Linked DNA regions of Homo sapiens: all the other regions are linked to region 1. The links are contacts of gene promoters, found by promoter capture Hi-C in blood cells and fetal thymus (Javierre and others, 2016). All regions are on one chromosome and are shown on one strand. The core of a region is centred on a gene start or on the middle of the fragment in contact, and the rest is flanking DNA. Distances in the headings are between cores, read along the strand shown.

Region 1 (4,802 bases), core at 919-3,418:
CACATTAGGATTTGCTGGAGCCTCGCAGCACGTGAGAACCCTCCCAAGAGATGGGAAAGAGGAAATGTGATTTCACACTGGACATCTCCACTAGTTCTTTCCCACCCTTCTGGGAGACAGAGAGGGAGAGAGAAAGAGAAATCTTTAACTGCAGCCCTGCCTCTCCTAGCTCTCCTGACACCCGCCCTAAAAAAAAAAAAAAAAAGGCTGAAAATTTCAGAGATGTTTATGCTCCATTTGTGTGAAGATCTGGAGAACTCCAAACATTGTGAAATCCACCAGTGCAATATTGGGTAGGGCCTCAGGCCAGACTGAGCTCATTAAGAGATTGATAAACCCGCAGTTCCCAACTTCTCTGAGCCTTATACCTTCCAGCTTTGAATCCCGAGAGACTTGTCAGGGAGGTTAGTGCCTCGGTCAGCTACAGACACAGACGAGTGCTTGCTCCCGCCCCTCTGCAAGTTCTTTGGCCTCCAGTGTGTCTGGCCTCTCCCAAAACTGGAGAGAATCACGCCACTGATTTGGAGGCAGGAAAGAAGGGGATGCCACTAGGTTTGGGCACCCCACTGTACACTCTTCTTTCCAGCACTAACCGCGCTGGGGGGTACGGAAGCCTTGCTGCGCCAGAAGGCGGCCTCCTGCCCTCACAGAGGCCTTGGCAATATGGATGCCCCTCCAGCAGCTGGTGAAAGAGGCAGCCAGCAGCTCCCTACTCTGCCTACCATCTAGCCCCTCCAGCCCATTTCGCCTCTCTTGCCCATCCTTCAGCCCTATAAGCCACGCAACCATTTTCTGTCTCCCCTGCCTCTCCTGCCCACAACCCCCTGCCCCCAATCAAGGAGAATTGAGAAACCGTCTTCTTGCACAAGAGCAGCTACTGTCTAAATGCTTTTTGATCGTCTGCATGGAGGGGGAACTGGGCACAGCCCTGGACCCAGTGATGGAGCCAAGCTCTAGCTGCCCTGGCTAGCCAAACCCGCCCTCACCCAGCTCACTGTCCCCGGGGTCTTGGCGATTCAGAATTTGTCAGAACATACCGTCTCTATCCTCTTCTCTGTGATGTCAAGCCTGGTACCACCAAGAAGGAAGGAGGGAAAGCAGGAGCCTTATCTCTCCTACATTCGCAACCTCTTCCTCCAGCTCCCACACGCCTGGTGTTATGTAAACGCACCTTCAACCCCCACCGCAGCCCTAGCGCGGCCTGGGGGCTCCGGGGCCTGGCACAGCTCGGTGCCCGAGGATAGGGAGGTACAGGGTGGCCGAGGAGCCTCAGGCCTTACAGAGGCCAGGCAAGAAAAAGTCAACTGCAAGGCAGTTGCATAGCATAAAATGCGGCAGCGGAGCAAAGGTCAGACGGCGAGGAACCGCCTCGCCAAGGAGAGGGAGTAGGAATGCCCAGTCCTGAGCCAGCCCCTCGCTGACCATCGAGGGAGAGGCAGAAGGGGAGGGAATTCAGTCCGTCACGGCTCCGAAGAGAAAGAAAAAATCTACGTCGAGCATAGGCCGCTACGGCGGGCTGGGAGATACACGGCAAAGCTGGCACCGTGGGCACCGAGCTGGGAGGTGGGCGAGCCGCCCAGAGCGAGGGCGCCCCCCGACCCAAACGGTGGCTCCTGACCAAGCCCAGAGACGCCCGTTCCAGCGTTCGAGGCGGATGGTGGCAGGAGAAGGAAAGAGGCCAGGCCAGAGGCAAACTCCCGGGACACGCACGGGGCTTCCCGAGTCTCAGAGGGCGGGGAAGCCGGGCTTGGCAATGCCCAGGGGTCGGAAACGGCGGTGCCAGGCTGTGAACACCCCCGGCGCCGTGCCGGCCGGGCCGAGGGCGTCAGGGAGCTGCGGCGCACCGCAGCGACTCAAGGAGGCGCAGGCTGAGGGAAGGAACACTGAGGCGCGCCTAGAAATAGCGCACCATTTGCCCCAGCCCAAGGGGGGAGTCGCGTCGCGGCTCAGAGAGGGGCAGTTTCAGATCTCCAAACCAGCCATGGACTTACTTTGAGGAGCTGCAGGGTCACAAGCATCGCCCCACGTCTGTGTAAATCCTGAAGCCGGGGCAGGTTAGCCGCCGCTGTACTCGCAGACGCCGGTCGGAGGAACCGGCAAGGCTCCCTGCGCTCCACAGCGCCAGCTCCGCGCTGTCAGCTCAGCTCGCTACCTCCGCGGCGATGTTGCAACCACTGCCTGGGAAAATGGCTTTTTTATGAATGGGAGGGAAGGGAGCGCCAGTGCGCACGCGTGCCGTTCGCGATTCTATGAATGGGTGGGCACAACAGACCCTGAGCGCGCATGCGCTCCGCTCCTTTTTTTATGAATGGGGGGCGGGAAAAGATCTTAACCCGTGATTGCTGGGACTGGCTCAAGCTCCACCAGGAGCCGTCGTTCTTTTACAAAGAGGGGTGGAGGTTCCAGTGGAGGCTGTTGTTGCCTTTTTTTTTTTTTTTTTAATGAATGGAGGGCGGCGGCGACTGCTGCAGCTGGGCCAGCTGCGCGGGCTGCACCCCCTCCCAGCCTGCGAGAGGAGGTAAAGGCCACCTTCACGCCACTGCGGGCCTGGGCAGGAACCGTCAGTGTCGCTGGGGGGTGGGGGACGCTGCGGCCTCCGGATCCCGGGTTGAGAGCAGGGTGGTGGAGGGCACACCTAGATCTGGGGATCTCTGCCCCCCGCAGGCAGTCAAAAGGGGGGGCGGGAGGACCCCTACTGGGGGCCTTCTCTTGCTCTAGACCAGAGACGCCAGGCGGGAGGGGTCTTGAAGCTGCGTTTACCAAAAATTAGGAAAATGTCCATCATTCATATCAAAGGGTGGGGTGAGGATTGGTGAGTGAATCTGGTTCTTTTTCCTGAGGCTGAATCTCTCGTGAGTGCTGGCCGCCCCTCCCCCCATTTCTTGGGTGTAGACAGTGACTGGGCCCAGGCCTCTTCCGGCTCCAGTACCCCCCGGGGCGATTCTGGCAACTCAGCCAGAGGAAGCCTGGCCCTCGCCTCCCAGCGTTCCCCCCGCCCCCCGCCCCAGTGCAATGTCCGCAGTGCCCGGGCGTCTGCCCGCTCTCTGTCGCCCTAGCTAGGTGTCCTTTCTCTGTCCCAGTCGGTTTCCCAGCCCTCACAGGACGCTGGCCTGAGGAGCCTCGGTCCACCGAAGGCCCACGGCCCTTCGCTGTTGTAGGCGCCTTTCCCCAATATCCCCCACCTCTCACCGGCCTCCCCTCCGGGGAAGTGGGAGCGGCCGAGAACTGGCCAGGTGGATGGGTGGAGCCGGCTGCGCCGAGGATGCTGCCGGGGTGGCCTCAGGATTAAATAACAACGGGGCTCTTGAGCCGCAGAGGAAATGGAAATGGCTGGGGATCCTTTCTTCGCTGTTAATGATGGTGGCGTTGGGGGGCGGGGGTGAGGATCAGCTCAAGCCGGTGAAAAGAAAAGCCCCCGCCATTAGGCCTGACTCCAGGAAGGCGGGGAGCCCTCGCAGCAGGCCCTGCTCCTCCCTGGAACGGAGGAGCCTGTAGCCTCCGGGAAGTCCGGGGCGGGGGGTGGCTTTGATGCGTGGATAAGAGCAGAGTCTGGGCCAGGGCTTGGCCCTGAGTCCCTTGTAAGGTCTGTCTTGCCGCTGTTCTGGCCGCACGGGGAGATTGTGTGGCAGTCTTTTTCTTCCTACGCCACTATAGGATTGTGCTTGGCTGTTGTCAGAGGAACCAATGAAAGGCTCCCAGCCCAGGGCTGAGGTCTGGCCTAGGGCTGGGGCTGGGACTCTAGAGGCAGGCAGCCCAAGGTCACCGAGTCCTAGCCTAAAATGCCTTCTCACCATTCGGCTCACCCCTCCGTGTACTTACCCAGCTCCTGAGGGCAGAGCAGACTCTCCCCTAGGGAACCTCAGCCTTCCTTTCAGGGGCGAGACCTTTCTCTAAGACCAAGAGAACTCTTCGCCAGAAAAATGGGTACAGTTGTCCAGGACTTCCTTTTAAGGCTGTTGAAGTTCAGTATCGCCCTCTCTGTCAGCTGTAGAAACTGAGGCCAAGGGTCCTGCACCGGGTATATGGAAGAGCTGGTAAATTGTAGCACTTATTTTCTAGGTCTTTGCAACCTGGCTTTACTTTGCTACCAACCCTTCTCAGCATCACAGACCTAAAAACCTGTTTCTCGCATGTCATTTAAGCATTTTAAACAATGAAAGTTGAAGCAGTAATTTTCCAGCTGGTGCTCACCCATGGCCCTTGCTGAAACAGTCAGAAGGATGGGAATAAATAAATCTTAAATCTATGGCAGAAAAGGAGGATTGGAGGAGCCGCGGGGAGGGGGGTTGCTATCCTGTTTTCTTTATTAGAGAAACTCAGGAGACAGACAGGATTACATTTCATAGTCTTTCTCAGCTTCCCTGAAAGAGAATGCGAGGAGACCCCAGCCTGTGGTGGGGAGAAGGAGGAGCTCCCAGTCTTGAGCTGGGAGGGGCCTCTGATGCTTAAGTACAGCGAGATTCAGAGCGTCTAGAAGGGCTCTGGAGGTCATATTCTGGTTGTGCTTGGAACCTAAGCTGAGGAATGGTTTGGAGCAGCAGTTATGAAAAATTCATTCATTCATTCATTCATTCATTCACTCATTCACTCATTCATTGATCGATTCTGTAGTGGGGCCTGCCCTGACTCTGGAGACTCAGTGGTGAGGGACAGACAGCCCTCCCTGCCCTTGTGAAGCTCACAGTCTTTTGAAAAGACAGACAGACAGGCTGCAACATGAGGTTCTAAGTGCTAGGAGGGAAATGAGCTTTCTCTGGGGTATGTTGCTTGCCGGGGAGGTGGGGGATGGTGGAAGGAGCTGA
Region 2 (4,802 bases), core at 1,279-3,778, 290 kb after region 1:
AGTCTCTAATTATGCTCAAACTAGTGATCAAGGAATCAAAAATATCTCCTTGCCAGGCCGTGTGGATCACATTTAGTCAGGGAGCATCCGTCTCATGCCTGGCCGAGGCAATTCTGTTTCTGAATAACCCTTGAAACTCAGAAGGGCTCTGGCAGTACCACCACTGGGCAGAAGAGGGCAACAGAACCACATTCAGGGAGTACATCCGTGCCCAGGACTCCTCTCACCTGCAGAACCCTAGTAAATAGAAGTTTCGCCCTTGTGAGGCACACTGGGCAATGCTGCCATTCCCATTCCACAGGTGAGGAAACTGAGTCTCAGCGAGACTAAATGATTTTCCTGAAAATTATCTGGGAACACTAGAGACACTTCAATTTCTAGTCAGGAAAGGACTGGAAGCGTCCCAGGGCTGGGGGGCTTGAAGCTTCTTTCGCAGAGTTTGCAAACAGAAAGAATGCATAATGGCAAGAACGTTAATTGTCCAGGGCTGCTCCAGGTAGAAAGGGGCAGAGTAGGCTTGAACTCGAGCCTGCTGACTCTTCAGTGGAATATCCAGTTCCAGTACTGACAGGTACACGGATGGGCTTCTGGCCACCCACCCCACTTACTCTGATCTCTGTCCTCTTGGTCCTTGTTCTTAGTTCCAGAGTAAGCAAATAATAGGCCCACACAACAACTCCGAGTGTTGGCAGAGAGATGCTGAATCTAAGCCTGCATCTAGCCCCTTGACTTTCCTGGGTGGCAGTACTGTTAAAAAGAGGAGTCTGGAAGGTCCTTCAATACGACCCTGTGTTACCATATGCTAGGCTGATTATATGGAAAGCTTGATGATGATAACTGCAATATGAACCAACACGTGCTGTGCTGTTCCTCTGTGCCAGCCACTGTGCCAAGAACTCTCACTATATTATCTCATTTAACCCTCCCAAGAAACCTGTGAGGCAAGGAATATTAGTATTCTTTTTGTACAAATGAGAAAAGTGAGGGTGAAAGGTGCAGTTGCCCAAGTTCACTTGGAAAATAATCTGGCATTCCTTGAATGCAGAAATCCTCACCTGCACTCCCAGGGCTACGTTGTGCTGCTTTCTAGGGGCTCCTGACATCTTAAGTCAGGCGGCCAAATCCACTGTGGACTCCAGAAGTTGTGCCAGTGTTACACACCCAGAGTGCAGTCTGTTGTGCTAATGATGGAATGGCAACAGTTAAGCCATTTTCCATTGCTACAGAAATTCCAGTATTGGAGCCTTTTTTTACTCCAGAAGTCAAGGTTTCCAGAAGAGCTAGCTTAACCCCAAGGAACATATCATGAAGTTTGTCTTTCCTCTTGGGTTCTGAGGACCGGAGAGCATTCCCTACTTTTTCAGAAAATTGGTTAAGACGTATTAGGAACACTTAAAACCCAGAGGAATTAAAGCTTGTTCGTGTTGTGTGGGGCAGATCACGTGAGTTGTGTATCATGCCTGACACAATGGACTACAATCTAAGTTTGCTAATTTGCAGTGAATATTGCTTATGTATGCTATTTAACAAACTAGAGTCTTTTTTTTTTGCCTCATTCTGACACCTGTTTTTCACTGAGTATAAGACATTCAGCAAGCCCATTTGAAGATAAGCCATCAAAACAAAGCCCAAAAGAGCTAATTCTGCAGCTGCAAGCCCCAGCCTCAGCCTTCCTGCTCCTCATCTCCAGGGTCTGTGCAGTGGGTGGGGAGGAAGGAACAACGTCACCTCGTGTAAACGCCAGCATCCATCCCCATTACCTGTGCATCTGAGGGTACAGCGTGAGCACCAGCGAAGTGGTCATTTGTTCTTAGAGCCTGCAACCTCTGGTGCATGGTCCATGAATAATTAAGACCACCTGATGTATAAACCATCATGTCAAAGTGAGTGTTTTGCATTGCATTTTGAAGCCAGTCCTACAGAAACTTCCTTCCTGCCTGTCTTCTTCTATGTCTCCTGATTTTCCTTCTCTTGATTTGTGGCAAGTTTGACTCTTGAGATTGCTGACCCTCTAAGCAGGGACTGGATCTGACTTTAGGCTTCTTTGTAACCTCTGATGCTGCAGTGGGACTCAGGGAATCTCAGATAACATCACGATAGGACCTGGACACCTAATATCAAACATACACACCAATGCCAGAAGTACCAAAGCAGAAGGAAGAGATTTTTTTATACTTAGATAGTCAAGAAGATTCTTTTCTCTAGAGTCATACCTTCATTTGTCAACACCTCTGAGAACCGGGCTGCCAGGAAGTCCTGGAAGAGATATTCAGCATTTGGCGCTAGTCGCTCCTACTCTCCAGTTTCTATAAGGTCTGGAGAATGACTTTACCACTGCTGGTTACCACAGCCACATCTGCGTGATACGCAGAGGGAAAGCTGCATAATTTATGATGTGTAAGACTACGATTATGAACTGGGATTTCACAAATCAAGCCCAGTGGAAACATAACCAGGAGAGTCAGTTGACTTGAAACGGAGCCCACATCTCTGTGCAGGATTTACCACCATGCCTGTCTGGTTCATCCCATCATGAAGCGTGCAGGCCCCTGACTAGCCTTCGGGGCCAGATCTTTCACTAGTTACAGAAACCTGGGAAAACATACAGCAATTGAGCACCGGCAGCCCGTTCTGTTGGGTCAGCAGAGAGTGCTTTAAAAAACTTGAAATAGGACACGTTTGGGTAAGTGGTGGCCCCCACAAGTCCCTATTTTCTAAACCCAGACATTTTACGCATTTATGTGACTCCACCTCTGAATGTGTCATGCCTGAATAGAACCTTGGAGAAGCAAGTACCTGTACTTAAATGTGCACCTTCCTCCCACCTTGACTACAGAAGATGTCAGAAAGGGAAGGGGGGTGCCATAGAGATGGGCTTACTGTGCTGGTCGCTCCTGTCCCTTGTCCCATCCACTGTGCCATCCGGAAGGATCCTCAGGAAGTGGCCCCCGTTGCTACAGTAGAGGAGTTTGGGCTTCTTGTAATTCCCTGGAGGCAGATTAAACTTCTCGGTCAGGGCTGTGAAGGTGGTGATTTCCCCTTCAGCCATGGCTCAGCAGCTGCTGCTTGTGGCGCTTTCAAGACTGTAAGAAATTGAACAAACCTGTAGTCGGTTCTTCCAGCAAAGGCACAAAATGCACTTTGAAGAGAGGAAGGACAGCTCCAGGGCACAGGGTTCCCGGGTAGTGAGTAAGCACAGCCTGCCCAGGTGATGCCCGCAGTCCGCGGGCCTGTGAGGTGGCTGGTGGTTAAGGAAGGATGGTCCCAGGCCTGGGAGGGGTTTCCAGGGCATTTTTCTCTCTTCCCAATTGGACACAGCTTTGGACCAAACTGCATTTTTTAGAACTTCAAATTTAATCATCTGACCATGGGGAAAAGAATCATGTTTTGGTCCCTCCTTCTGGTCCACACACATCCTCAAATTAAACACCAAAGTTGCACTAAAATAACACCTAGGGTCTGGCTGAAACCCACAAAAGCTGAGAGGCCAGGACCAAGGTTCTGCCCTCCACCCTCACGTTGCGTTGGTGAGGTACCGCGAAGCAGATAGCACAGATGGCCTGGACGTTCGGGACCTGCAGCCAAAGGCACAGGAGGCCTTTCAGGGACACAACAGGGAAAGTAAAGGGTTAGTATGTTAAGGGAAGCTTCTGGATTTGCTGGGGGAAACAGAACTGGAACCAGGGAAAAAGGCACAGAGTGGGAGTAAGTGGGGTTTTTAAAGGGCAAATACCATATCAAAGGAAATGTTATGAGACAGATCATTATGAAGGCTATGCCTGGTTCCTGCCCATTCTGCAGCTTTCCACATAGCTTCATGTGGCACAGAGAAGGTGGGTCTGTCCCTTGCACGCAGGCTGTTTTCATCCTAGCTATTTTCTAATGTGAGATAGAACACAGAAACCACCATATTATATATAATATACCTTTAACATTATATGTAGCCACTACATACAAACTTATATTATTAATGTGAAAATGCATCACTTACACCTCAAAGGATTAAAAAACAAAACCAATGAGCATTAGAATTGGTTAAAACATATACTTGCCCCACCATTTAGGAGAAGGAAGTGCTGGTGACTCTAAAAACTGAAAAGAAAGAGGCCAAAAAGAGACCAGGAAACTAACGTGTGAACTGCACTTTTTTTTTTTTCTCCTGAGACGGAGTCTCTGTAGCCCAGGATGGAGTGCAGTAGCACGATCTCAGCTCACTGCAACCTTGGCCTCCCGGGTCCCAGTTCAAGCAATTCTCCTGCCTTAGCCTCCCAAGTAGCTGAGATTACAGGAATGCGCCACCACACCAGGCTAATTTTTATATTTTTAGTAGAGATGGGGTTTCACCATGTTGGCCAGGCTGGTCTTGAACTCATGACCTCGTGATCCGCCTGCCTCGGCCTCCCAAAGTGCTGGGATTACAGGCGTAAGCCACCGCGCCCGGCCTGGGAGCTGTACTTTGTAAGTGTGAGTAGTGAATGTGATCATCAATACATATTGATTATCAAGTGGTCTTAGAATAAAAATCATCACCCTCATCATTAACGTATTTTGGGCTACAGGTTATCTCAAGTAATCTCACCATAATCCCTTGAAGTGGACACTAATATTATCATCATTTTTAATAAAACCAAAGCTTACAGATGTTCAGTGACCTGCCCAAGGGCAACAGCTAGTAAGCGATGGAGCTGAATCGCAAAAGGAGTCTGGGAACAGAAAGCCCCAATTTGCCCTTGATCACCATGAAAAGGTTTAGTGACTTTATCCACACTAGTCTTTTTATGAGGAGTGGGGTTTTTACCCAT
Region 3 (4,802 bases), core at 1,546-4,045, 270 kb after region 1:
TCACCCAGGGCTCTCTGCTGCTGAGTAACCTTGGGAAGGTCAAGGCGTGGTAATGACTCCCAAGGATTTATTCTGCCTTCCTGCGGCTGGGCCTCCCTTTCTTCATTTATTCTACATGGAGATGCCATCCTTCTAAGTTACCCACCAAAATCCAATCTCTCTTTTCCATTTTAAATGCCTCTGTTCTGAAGGGGGGATTTCTTTGTCCCTGTTTCTGGTCATGGAATGCTGCCTTCCTAACCTGGCATGAAGCTTCTTTGCTAATATTTGCAGGGCACAGGAAGGACAAAAGGGAGCCATGCCAGATGTTTGGGGGAATCACAGATAGGGTTTACTCAGTAGAGGGAAATAGTGTGCAGTTACTAATGTCCCACTTAGCCGACCCCTTAACACACTTCATTTAGCCCCACTTTTGCATGGAGGGACTCAGCCTGCAAGAGGCAATTGGAGATCCAAACCCAGACCCAGACTGGCCAGCCAGTTGACTCCTAGAAGCAATTTGGTCCCTCTGTTCTAAACTGTGCAGGGGTAAAAGGCTCTGCAAAGAAGTGAACTGGGCATTTAGAAGCAAGTTGCTTACAAATTCAGGCTCTGTGGGCTGGGGGTTAGCGCAGCCAATGGTCAAGGGAACATTTTTGGGTCAACCAGGTGAGGACCCCTCGAAACTTCTCTGGAGTGGTCAACACCCAGAACAGATCTCTTTAATCAGAAGAGACTGGCAGGGGGAGAAACAAGATTGCTTTCTGGCCATAGTGAGTCCGAGGACCGCGTTTGCAGCTCCCATTCTTCTTGAGGCCAACAAACCAATTCTTCTCTGCATGCTTCTTGGATATATAGGTGTTGTAATGGTTCTCCTCCAGCCTTTCCAGGAACAAACATTCCTCATTTGGTGTCTGCTAAAAAGATAAAACCAAAAGAGAGTAGGACAATCAGTGAGTAGTTTCACATGGGGGTCCCCATTTACTAGCTGTGTGACATTGGGCAAAATACTAAAGCTCTCCATGCCTCAGTCTCCTTTTCAGGAAAATTGGGGTCATGGTGGAACTTATTTCACAGGGTAGTCATAAGGACTTAGAACAGCACCGGGCACTAAAGAGCTGTCAATATGCATTTGCTATTATTGTAAACTTCCTTTCCATTTAAAATCCATTGTAAAGTAATTAAGATGCTACTGATAAGAGCACTTCTAAGAGTCCTCAGGACTCTAGAATCTCCCACTGGGGACATTCTGCTCGACTGTAAGTACCTTGAGGGCAGGGCTGGATCTTTCATCTCTGTAGTGGCCTGGCACACAGGCCTGACCATGGAAAAACATTCCAAATAGGTAAAAACCAGACTGTGATGTAGTGGGTTGTTGTTGTTGCTGTTGTTTTAACTTGAAGGCTAGACTTAAAGAATAAACAAAAAGCTGCTAAAATGCCTTTTATCCTGGTGATTTTCACTAACGTCAGGATTTTACCTGAGTATTGTTATGAAGATATGCTTGTGCAAAATTTATCCTAAGCATGAAACATATCCTAGAATGTAGATTTTTTAAAATGAAAATAGCTTTATTTTTTGCTACTTATAAAAAGAATCTTATAAATAGATGCTACTTGTGGTCAGGCACAGTGGCTCATGCCTGTAATCACAACACTTTGGGAGGCTGAGGCAGGAGGATTGCTTGAGCCCAGGAGTTTGAGGCCAGTCTGGGCAACATAGCAAGACCCATTCTCTACAATTTTTTTTTTAATTAGCTAGGTGCCATGGTGTGTGCCTGTAATCACAACACTTTGGGAGGCTGAGGCAGGAGGATTGCTTGAGCCCAGGAATTTGAGGCCAGTCTGGGCAACATAGCAAGACCCATTCTCTACAATTTTTTTTTTTTTAATTAGCTAGGTGCCATGGTGTGTGCCTGTAATTACAACACTTTGGGAGGCTGAGGCAGGAGGATTGCTTGAGCCCAGGAATTTGAGGCCAGTCTGGGCAACATAGCAAGACCCATTCTCTACAATTTTTTTTTTTTAATTAGCTAGGTGCCATGGTGTGTGCCTGTCCTCCTAGCTACTTAGGAGGCTGAGGTAGGAGGATTGCTCGACCCCAGGAGTTTGAGGCTGTAGTGAGCTATGATTGTACCACTGCACTCTAGTCTGGGTGACAGAGCAAGAACCTGTCTCTAAAGAGTAATAAAAATGCTACTTATAAGAAGAATTGTACTTTTAAAAATATACCTTTACTTTGTAAAAAGAAAAAACTATCCCAAAACCCACCACCCAGATATAGGCAACTGTTAATCACTGATAAACATCCTGCCTTACATCTCTTTATGTACATACAGACTAGATAAGGCTATATGGATATAGACTTATGATATCATCAAAATGTCATGTTTTATTTGATGTTTTAAAAATGAACAACAAACCTATGAAAACATTCAATACTGCTAACGAGAAAAATGCAAATTAAAAATTATTTATCATATGTTAGCTATCCTATGTGCAAAGATAAAAAAAAATTTGTGCAAAGATAAAAAACCATTTGCAAGACTTAGAATGTGGGAACTAGGCACTGCCATGCACAGTTGGCGAGAAAAATTAGTGGAAACTTTCTGAAGACAATTTAGCAATATGTATCAAAATTTACAAGATGTATTACCTTTGACTCAGCAATTTCACTTCTAGGAATCTACCCCTAGGAGATGGTTGAGTAAGTGTACAACTGTATTTTTGAGGATGGTCTCTGAACCAATGGTTATAGGGGCAAGCGATTAGGAGTAACCTATATGTCCATGGAAAGGTGATTGGTTAAGTGGGTAAAAGAATATCCGTACAGTAGAACCCAGTGCAGCTGTACATTTATTAAGTTGAAAATCAGCCACAACGTATTAAAGAGTGCAGTTACTTGAAAAAAATCCAGCAACCACTATTTTGCTTACTTGTAGTCAATCTGTTGGTGGAAGGGGAACTCAGTTTTTGAACTTTCTATTCGTCAAGATCTTAGAATATATTTATTACATTTGGGTCTAAAACAGGTATATTAAAACACTTATGCTGGAACTGAGACATCTGACTTTGCTTTGCCTTTTTCAAGTCGTGTGACCCCTGCAGTCTCTCTTCACCCACAGTGGTTGGTGATTCCCTGTCTGGCGGTTTCCAATTATATTGTTCATTGTTCTCTATGTGTGAGCATGTTTGTTTCTTTAGATTATAAACCCTAGTGAGGAAGGAGATGGAATCTTGTTGGTCTTCTCTCCATCCCCCAGACACAGAGCCTTGCAAATAATAGGTGCTCACCAGCTAAGTAATGCATTTAATTTGATTCTTGAGATAATATAAAGCAGTCAGTAAAGTCAGCCTTTCTTAGTAAGGAACTGTGTAACAGGAAGTATCCTGCTTCTTATTCATTCATAATCTAGTGAAATGACAACAGGGTGAGACACTTTAGATCATATTGGAACAAGATGAGATATAAATATAATATTTTATTGGATGACTCTGCTGCCTCTAGAGGAACTTGGTGCAGACATTCGTGTTTGATGCATGTTGTTGGGGGTAGAAGGAGGTAGACAGCTTGGACCTATGTGGGTTGCCCACTCCCTTGTAGGGAGGACTCATGCCTGACACCTCATAGTGGGCATCAGGCCTGTGTTCTGTGACGAAGGTGAGGATGGCCACATTCCCCACCTGATGTCTCTATTATACTGGAGGAGTTGACACACACAAAATAGCTGAGTCACAGGCTGAGTCAGCAGGCCAGATCAGCGGTGCTCCGTCCCTCCACCAGGATTTGTTAGCACTCATTATGCACTTGGTACAATGCTGAAGACATGTGGCTTAACTATTGATTCATGTCTATTGTTTAAATTGTCTTCTTTTTTATATTTGGCATGTTTCCCCTCCCACCCTAAATTACATAGGTGACATATACTTACTGTAAAAAAAAAATTGGAAAATACAGGAAGTTATTCACATATTATAAAATCACCCATTCTCCACCCCCAGAGATAACTATATCAGTATTTTGATATATAGCCTTTCAAACTTAAAAAAAATATACATATCCTTTCCACACACACAAGTTTGAATCAGGATGGATTAGTGCCTAAATTTTATGAAGAGCATGAAGCAGAGCTTTGAGATATCTTAGAACTTCTCTTTATCAATGGGGAAAATGCAAACATTCTTAGGCGTAATATACTAAGATCATATTTCAGGTGAATTGTAGTGATGGCCACGGCTATGGTGGGAGAAGGGGGTGCCTGGAGCCTATCGGAAATTAGATTCTGGGAGTTCTCCCTCAATATTTTTATATAAGTGAAAGCAGGTTACAATAAACGTCAAAATTTATTTAAAGAGGGAAAAGCCATAAAACTGTGGCATAACCTAAGACACAGTGAGGGTGAGGGGCTTCTAAGCTGATGACTTGTCTTACAGCCACCACTGGTCTGTGACGTGCCAGCCACTCTGATGGGCGCATTCTGTGTGTTGCACCACTGAACCCATGTACGCTCTGTGTGAGGCGGTTATGATCCATGACTGTCCTCATTTTAGACAAAGCTCAGAGTGGGTAAGTGACTTGCCAGAGTGGCAGAGGCGTGAGATTCAATCATGAGTCTGAGACTAAGCGATTGACTGATGGATTGATTTTACTACCACTTGGAAGAACTACCTTAAAAAAATCCCCTACTGCCAAACCCCTTAAAGCCGTCCCAGGTGATCTGTACTGAGCACATAGCATTTTAGAGGTTACCTATTACGCTGATGATTTAATCTCCTGATCCCTAGTGGGCAGTGAGAGGAAACGAAGCTGTGTTCACATTGGGA

What was found. Contacts are between HindIII fragments. The CHiCAGO score rates a contact against its expected background, and 5 or more counts as called.
Region 2: a fragment that was not itself captured here is called in contact with the fragment with the promoter of SPRY4 in region 1 in 1 of 17 cell types (naive B cells); the score reaches 5.1 in naive B cells.
Region 3: a contact is called between a fragment that was not itself captured here and the fragment with the promoter of SPRY4 in region 1, in 2 of 17 cell types (endothelial precursors and activated CD4 T cells). The highest score is 6.8, in endothelial precursors.

The regions. Positions count from the first base shown.
Region 1 is chr5:142,322,853-142,327,654 of GRCh38, forward strand. It overlaps SPRY4 (sprouty RTK signaling antagonist 4), which reads right to left and starts at 2,169. Exons shown (of 2, transcript NM_001127496.3): 1 at 1,992-2,169. It overlaps SPRY4-AS1 (SPRY4 antisense RNA 1), which reads left to right and starts at 2,441. Exons shown (of 4, transcript NR_120664.1): 1 at 2,441-2,518. RefSeq lists enhancers at 167-1,131, 1,132-2,094, 1,576-1,635. The HindIII fragment of the contact is 6,861 bases long and covers 1-4,802 here.
Region 2 is chr5:142,611,079-142,615,880 of GRCh38, forward strand. FGF1 (fibroblast growth factor 1) reads right to left here. Exons shown (of 4, transcript NM_000800.5): 2 at 2,881-3,083. The coding sequence starts at 3,049. Among named protein-coding and RNA genes, the nearest start is that of FGF1, 73 kb to the right of the region's middle. The HindIII fragment of the contact is 2,233 bases long and covers 1,413-3,645 here.
Region 3 is chr5:142,594,589-142,599,390 of GRCh38, forward strand. FGF1 (fibroblast growth factor 1) reads right to left here. Exons shown (of 4, transcript NM_000800.5): 4 at 1-896. The coding sequence ends at 702. Among named protein-coding and RNA genes, the nearest start is that of FGF1, 89 kb to the right of the region's middle. The HindIII fragment of the contact is 5,090 bases long and covers 251-4,802 here.